Regions from separate parts of the Homo sapiens genome. Here region 2 is linked to region 1. The links are contacts of gene promoters, found by promoter capture Hi-C in blood cells and fetal thymus (Javierre and others, 2016). All regions are on one chromosome and are shown on one strand. Each heading gives the region's core, a stretch centred on a gene start or on the middle of the fragment in contact. The rest is flanking DNA. Distances are from core to core; before and after follow the strand shown. Region 1 holds the start of CCNYL1 (cyclin Y like 1). Region 2 has its middle 15 kb from the start of MIR3130-1.

What was found. The method cuts DNA at HindIII sites, captures the fragments that hold promoters and counts their contacts. A CHiCAGO score of 5 or more calls a contact.
Region 2: a contact is called between a fragment that was not itself captured here and the fragment with the promoter of CCNYL1 in region 1, in 2 of 17 cell types (erythroblasts and monocytes). The highest score is 5.7, in erythroblasts.

Annotation. Positions count from the first base shown.
Region 1 is chr2:207,710,011-207,713,439 of GRCh38, reverse strand. It overlaps CCNYL1 (cyclin Y like 1), which reads right to left and starts at 1,800. Exons shown (of 10, transcript NM_001330218.2): 1 at 1,324-1,800. The coding sequence starts at 1,543. RefSeq lists silencers at 977-1,136, 1,149-1,258, 1,679-2,128 and enhancers at 1,000-1,996, 2,349-2,398, 2,409-2,608. The HindIII fragment of the contact is 3,390 bases long and covers 1-3,104 here.
Region 2 is chr2:206,796,258-206,799,686 of GRCh38, reverse strand. No RefSeq gene overlaps it. Among named protein-coding and RNA genes, the nearest start is that of MIR3130-1, 15 kb to the right of the region's middle. The HindIII fragment of the contact is 2,607 bases long and covers 430-3,036 here.

The sequences.
Region 1 (3,429 bases), core at 551-3,050:
AGAGTCTGACGAACCCCAACATTCTCATCTTTGACCAGGATTCTATTGGCAGGATTGGGAGGAAGGAAGGGGAACCACGGAAACAAATACTCTTGAGCAGGCAGGGTCTAGCATTTTAACTTCCAAACCATTACATTATAAATTAAGTCTAAATTTATACTTTGTCTCTTTTGAAACTTCTAACCATGAACCACCCCACCTCTCTTTTAGAACAAGGAGGTATTGAAGTCTGTTAAGTCACCGGAGAATGGCTGGAGATGTATTTGCCACCGTGGGAATTTTAAAGTAATCAGAACTCCGTGGCTAAACTCCTTTGAGTTAACAACCTCTGGGCGCGGTGGCTCACGCCTGTAATCCCAGCACTTTGGGAGGCCGAGGCGGGCGGATCAAGAACTCTGGAGTTAGAGACCAGCCTGACCAACATGGTGAAACCCCGTCTCTACTAAAAATTCAAAAATTAGCTGGGCGTGGTGGCGCACGCCTGTAATCCCAGCTACTCGGGAGGCTGAGGCAGAGGAATCGCTTGAAACCGAGAGGCGGAGGTTGCAGCGAGCCGAGATCGCGCCACTGCACTCCAGCCTGGGCGGGCGACAAAACGAGATTCCGTCTCAAAAAAACAACTTGTCTGCACCCCTGGTAATAACCTCTCACACCCTTCACAGTCATTTTACGCCCCTCCCCCCATTTTCTTTCTTTCTGTGTTCAAATTATAGTTGGAAGGAATAAAGCAGCTTCTTTCACGCCGACTTAACCTATTAGGAATACCATATAGTGTCTCCTATGGCAACCTCTATTTTGAGTCTAGATAAGAAATCCTCAAACATCTGGGTCTAAACTGTCGCGGGCATCAGCTATCTTCACGGATGGGAGGAAGGAACAATCAGACCCTTACCTGGTTCCTTCACTTAGGTACCATCTGGATGGGTTAAGGGAGGGAATGGGATGAGTACTCCGAAGTTGAGGTATTTGAGTTTCCATTGAGAAAAGGAAAACAATATACCCCAAAAGTCTTAGCAAAGTCCCACCAGACAATGAACAGAGCTACAAACAAGAAGGGCGGCGGACTAGAGGGTCCCACGCCGGCTTGGGAGAATGGGAAGCGGGAGCAAGAACTGGGCGTTACGGTAAGGAGGAGGAAAAGAAACTGGCCAGACGCAGCAGGGCAAGAATAAGGGGTGGGGACGCGAGGCAGAACCAGCCTTCGTCCCGGGGCCGGCTACCGGCAGGAAGGAGCCCGAGGCGGCGGATGCCTCCCGGGGGACTCTGGGGGAGGAGGCGGGCAGAGGTGAGCCCGAGGGCGGATGGCATCCGCCGCCTCCTTACCTTCGGGCATCTCGCGGTCGCTGATGTGCTGCAGGTGGTGGCCCTCGCCCTCTCCGAAATCCAACTCGGCAGGCTCCACCACAGCGGGCGCTACCGCCACCGCGTCCCCGGACACCGCCTCGTAGATGTCGGACGCGCAGTACAGCTCCGCCGACCCCGCGCGCCGGCCCAGCTTGGGGCTGGCATTGGGGGACACGCAACAGGTCAGCGTGTTCCCCATGGGAAGCCTCCGCTCCTCTCTGCCACCGCCTTCGCTCGCCCCCTACTCCGCCGCCCTCAACAGCCGCCCCCTCCCCCAACAATGGCGCGGCCGGCACCGGCAGCCCCGGGCTACGCTGGGGCTGCACCGCGCAAGCAGACGCCGCCTCGCCCGCGGTTCGCCCGCCCGCCCCGCGGCCCGGCCCCGGGCAGGGCTCGGGCCTCGGCCGCACCCCCACCGCCGCGCTGCCGCCGCCTCCCTTAAGCTGACTCGTCTGCGAGGGCGGTGACCAGCCCGGCTTATTTAAAAGGGGTGGGGAACCCAACAAGCGCTGTGAAGCACAGCCACTGCCGGGAGAGAGCGCGGCTGGAGCTCCTCCTCCTTCCGCCGCCGCCTACCGACTGAAGGCCGCTGGCCCTGGCCGGTGCCTGCCAACCGGAACGCGACCTGCGGTCACCTGGTTAGGAGGAACCAATCATGGTCAGAGTTCCCCCTCCGGCGCCCGCCTCGAAGCCAGGCACGTGACCTGCTGCCCCGCCCCCGCCTGGCAGCTGCCCAGCCCCTCACGCCGCTATCCCAGACTCGGGTTTTCATTCATCGCTGGCTGCTGGGAGCTTTCCGGTCCTACTGGAAGCGCACGGGCATTTGTAACTGGAAGCTGTGTCAATGATCTCTGTAGAAAGCCGTTATTAGTAAAGAGTTCGCTCCATTAGCAACTCTTCTTCCGAGTCTGACAGCTTTCGTTTGCTCACTAAACTTGGTTACACCCAAATTGTTAACTGTTTTTGTAACTCAGTGCTCCGCTCCTGTCTTCCAATGAGCGTTAGTTTTCACCTGCAACGTGATCATAGCAACCCTGGGGCCCTGGTCCTACTCTCCATAAAGAGTTGTGGCTGTGGGTCTTGAATGAGACTCGAGGACACGTCACCCTTCCACTTCCTCATCCATAAAATAGGGACCTAACTCGTCCCTGCCAACTCTGAAATGCTGGGACTCGCCAACTCCCTTTTCTTGCCTGTTTCTCTCCTCTAGGCAGGGACTTCCAGGTTTCTCTTCTTGTACTAAAAACAGCACAGAAAGCACGATTTTCTCACGCAAAACTGAGAACCATGCAGTGGGGCACCACAGTCTTGATTCCATGAAGATGAATAGTTACCATTTGGCAAGCACTATGTGCCAGACAGTGTTCCAACTGTGGTATATTTATTTAACCCTTAAAAACAATCCCGGCCGGGCGCGGTGGCTCATGCCTGTAATCCCAACACTTTGGGAGGCCGAGGCGGGCGGATCACCAGGTCAGGAGATCCAGACCATCCTGGCTAACACGGTGAAATCCCGTCTCTACTAAAAATACAAAAAATTAGCCGGGCATGGTGGCACGCGCCCGTATTCCCAGCTACTCGGGAGGCTGAGGCAGGAGAATCACTTGAACCCGGGAGGCAGAGGTTGCCGTAAGCCGAGATCGCGCCATTGCACTCCAGCCTGGGCGACCTAGGCTCCGTTTCAAAAAAATAAAACATAAAAATAAAAATAAATAAACAAATATATATATATACACACAATGTCACTTCCTCCCTAAGCTTGATTTCTACCTTTATTTTCTGATCATCATGATCAGGGACCCTCACCCTGAGCAGTCATGTAAGCTTGCGGAAGTAACTTAACTTCTGCGTCCCAATTTCTTCTATAAAACCTGCAAAATGGGATTGTTTTTTTTTTGTTTTTTTTTTTTTGAGACGGAGTTTTGCTCTTGTTGGGCGCGGTGGCTCACGTCTGTAATCCCAGCACTTAGAGAGGCAGAGGCGGGTGAATTGCTTGAGGTCAGGAGTTCAAGACCAGCCTGACCAACATGGAGAAACCCCGTCTCTACTAAAAACACAAAAATTAGCCAGGCATGGTGGCGTCCA
Region 2 (3,429 bases), core at 484-2,983, 910 kb after region 1:
CACCCCCTCATATATCTCCTGTGACTCCCCTAGAAAATTTTACTGTCCTAGCCAGATTTTCTTTCTCCTGTTGTTTCTTCTCAAATTTATCATTCTTTGTCTAAAAAGTATAAGAATATCTTACTTTGGCCTCTTGTTCAGACTTCACTTTCTTGTGAAGATCCCCAAGTACATGTAAAACTAGTAAAATTTATACATTTTTCTCTTGTTAATCTGCCTGCTGTCAATTTAGCTTCTACATCCAGCTGACCAGCCCACTAAGAGCTAACAGAAGGGTTGAAGTTGATCTCTGGTTCCCCGGTACCATGCTGTTCAAGCAGTGTAATCTCCCAGGTCCCTCCTCAGTAAATTTCGATTCAGTATCACTGGGACAGGCCCAACAGTTTGTGGTTTTGTCAAGTACATGTGACTGTAATCACCAGGAAAGCTTGAGTAACACTGGTGCGATGATACAAGCATGAGCTCTGGGGTCAGAAGGACTTGGGTGCAGATCTGGCTCTGCCTTTTTTCTAGTTGTGCACCCCTAGGAAAGGCAATTAAGGCCTTGAGTATCAGTTTATTCATCTATAAAATGAATATTAGTAATCATTAATAACCACCAAACAGGGGTGTGAAGACTGAATGATATAATGGGTGTGAAATGCTAGCACAGTGCCTGGCACATAGTAGGCACTTAATACATGGTCATTACTATTGTTAACTTAATCACCCACTCAGCTTAATGAATTTGCCCTATGTGACTTTTTGTTATTTCTAAAAATTAAATCCACAGTGAAAGGATATGAGGATACATAAAATACACTATCATAACGTATATTATACTTCATTAAAAAGTAAACAACTAAAGATCCTTAGGAAAAGTGATAGATGATAGATAGCCAGATAGGTAAATTTTAGGATAGGAAAATGTTCTAGAAATGAAAAACCAAACATTTAAAACAGTTTAACACTCAGGAGAATAACAAGTTTCTAGAAATACACACACACACACACACACACACACACACACACACACACACACACACACTGATACAAAAGGTAGAAACAATCCAAGGGCCCATCTGCAGATAAACAAAATGTGGTATATACATACAATAGAATATAATTCCATCTTTTTAAAAGGAAGGAAATTCTTTTTTTTTTCTTTGAGACAGGGTATCATTCTTTCCCCAGGCTGGAGTGCAGGGGCATGATCATGGCTCACTGCAGGCTCAATCTCCTGGGCTCAAGCCTTTTTAATTTTCTTGTAGAGATGGGGGTCTTGCAATGTTACCCAGGCTGGTCTTCAACTCTCAGCCTCTCCATCTTAGCCTCCCAAAGTGCCCGGGCGAAAGAAATACTGCCACATGCCATGACACGGATGAGCCAGAAAACACTACGCTAAGTGAAAGAAGCCAGTCAGTAAAGAATAATACTGAGCAATTCCACTCTATAAGGTGTCTAGAGTAGTAAAATTCATAGAGACAGAAAGTAAATGGTGGTTGCCAGGCACTGGGGGAAAGGGGAAATGGGAGTTACTGTTTAATGTGTCAGTATTTCCGTTTTGCAAGTTGAAAAGATTCTGGAGCTGGAGGGTAGTGATTGTTATATAACAATGTGAATGTACTCACTGCCACTGAACTGTACATTTAAAAATGGTTAAGATGGTAAATATTATGTTGTGTATTTTATCACAATTTTAAAAAAAATTAAGAAAATCAAGATGATATCAAATCACAGTTAAATATGAGTTTCAGAAATAGCTTGTTCGGTTTGTGTTGCTACAAAGAGCCCCATGTGAGTGAAATACTTCTAAGTGTACAGATTACATCCTTTGGAAAAATGAGCAAGTAAATTCACAAGTAATTTTGCATCTGTATTCTCAAACAATGTGACCGCACTGCCTTAGTTGCCTGTTTTTCTTTCAAACTATTCATTTACAAGATCACTCAAGAAATGTTACTCAGCTAAGTGGGAGGCTATGACTGGAAAACCTGTTCTGCCTTAACCCTGGCCTGGGGGATGCTTTGAAAAATGGCTGTGGTGCATGGAGCACTCTAAGGAAAACACTGAGGGGTGTTATCATCCTGTCTTAAGGCACTGTGATCTGTGCAGAGCTCTGCCCTGGGGCAGCTGGGCAAAGAGCAGGTGCATCCAAGGCTTGGCCTGTGGCCTGGATGACGTGGAACCCCCGTTACAATAGCCTGCAACAGCACAGGAGTAGTGGCTGTCGGGGGAGCTTCATCTGAACCCAAGCTGGTGAACGGGGCTTTGCCCCTCTGTTTTATTTATCTTTAATTGATTTTCTTTAACACTAGGTTTTCTTCAGGCCTCACATTTAATAAGATGGAGTATTTTTCTGATGAGTGTAAGCAGCATCTGAGCACTTCAAAGGTTCTCGAATAGAATAGCATTGGCTCTTTGTCTAATTTAACTTAAAAGTTATGACGAGGTGAAAGCTCATTTATATATTTAATATATTTCATGTCTTTCTTATTTATTTATTTTTTGAGACAGAATCTCACTCTGTCGTCCAGGCTAGAGTGCAGTGGCATGATCTCGACTCACTGCAAGCTCCACCTCCCAGGTTCACACCATTCTCCTGCCTCAGCCTCCCAAGTAGCTGGGACAACAGGCACCCGCCACCACGCCCAGCTAATTTTTTGTATTTTTAGTAGAGACGGGGTTTCACCATGTTAGCCAGGATGGTCTTCATCTCCTGACCTCGTGATCCGCCCGCCTCGGCCTCCCAAAGTGCTGGGATTACAGGTGTAAGCCACCGTGCCCGGCCTATTCTGCATTTTTTAAGCAAGGAAGCAAGCAAGCAAGGAGGAGGGAAGGAGATGGATTGCCTGAAATAATTGGGTGAAAGTTTGATGCTATCTTCCCTTCCCTCTTTAGGATTATGTGGCCCCTGGTGTAAAGAGATTGCCTGAGAGGAGCCTGGCAGAACTGTAGTGAAAGCATGGGGAAGTGTGGTGAAAACTGGATGCAAGGAGAACAAATGGAAAATAAAGGCAGGTGTGTTGGTTTCTCCCTTCCTCTGCCTCAGAAGCTTTATTGCTGCCTAGAGAAACCTGCTCAGGGTGGGGTGACATGTAAAACCAGCCAGCAGTATACACAGGTGTTCCTAGTGGGTCTTAATAACATTAAGTGTCTGTAACCCTGAGTGAAATTCTTTTTAAATTCTTTTTTCTTTTTTGAGACATGGTTTCACTCTGATATCCAGGTTGGAGTGCGGTGGCACAATCTTGGCCCACTGCAGCTTCGACCTCCTAGGCTCAGGCGATCCTCCCACCCCAGCTTTCTGAGTAGTTGGGACCACAGGTGCATGCCACCACACCCAGTTAATTTTTCTATTTTTTGTACAGGTGGGGTTTTGCCATGTTGCCAGGCTGGTCTCAAACTCCTGGGCTCAAACGATCCTTCTGCCTTGGCTTCCCAAAGTGC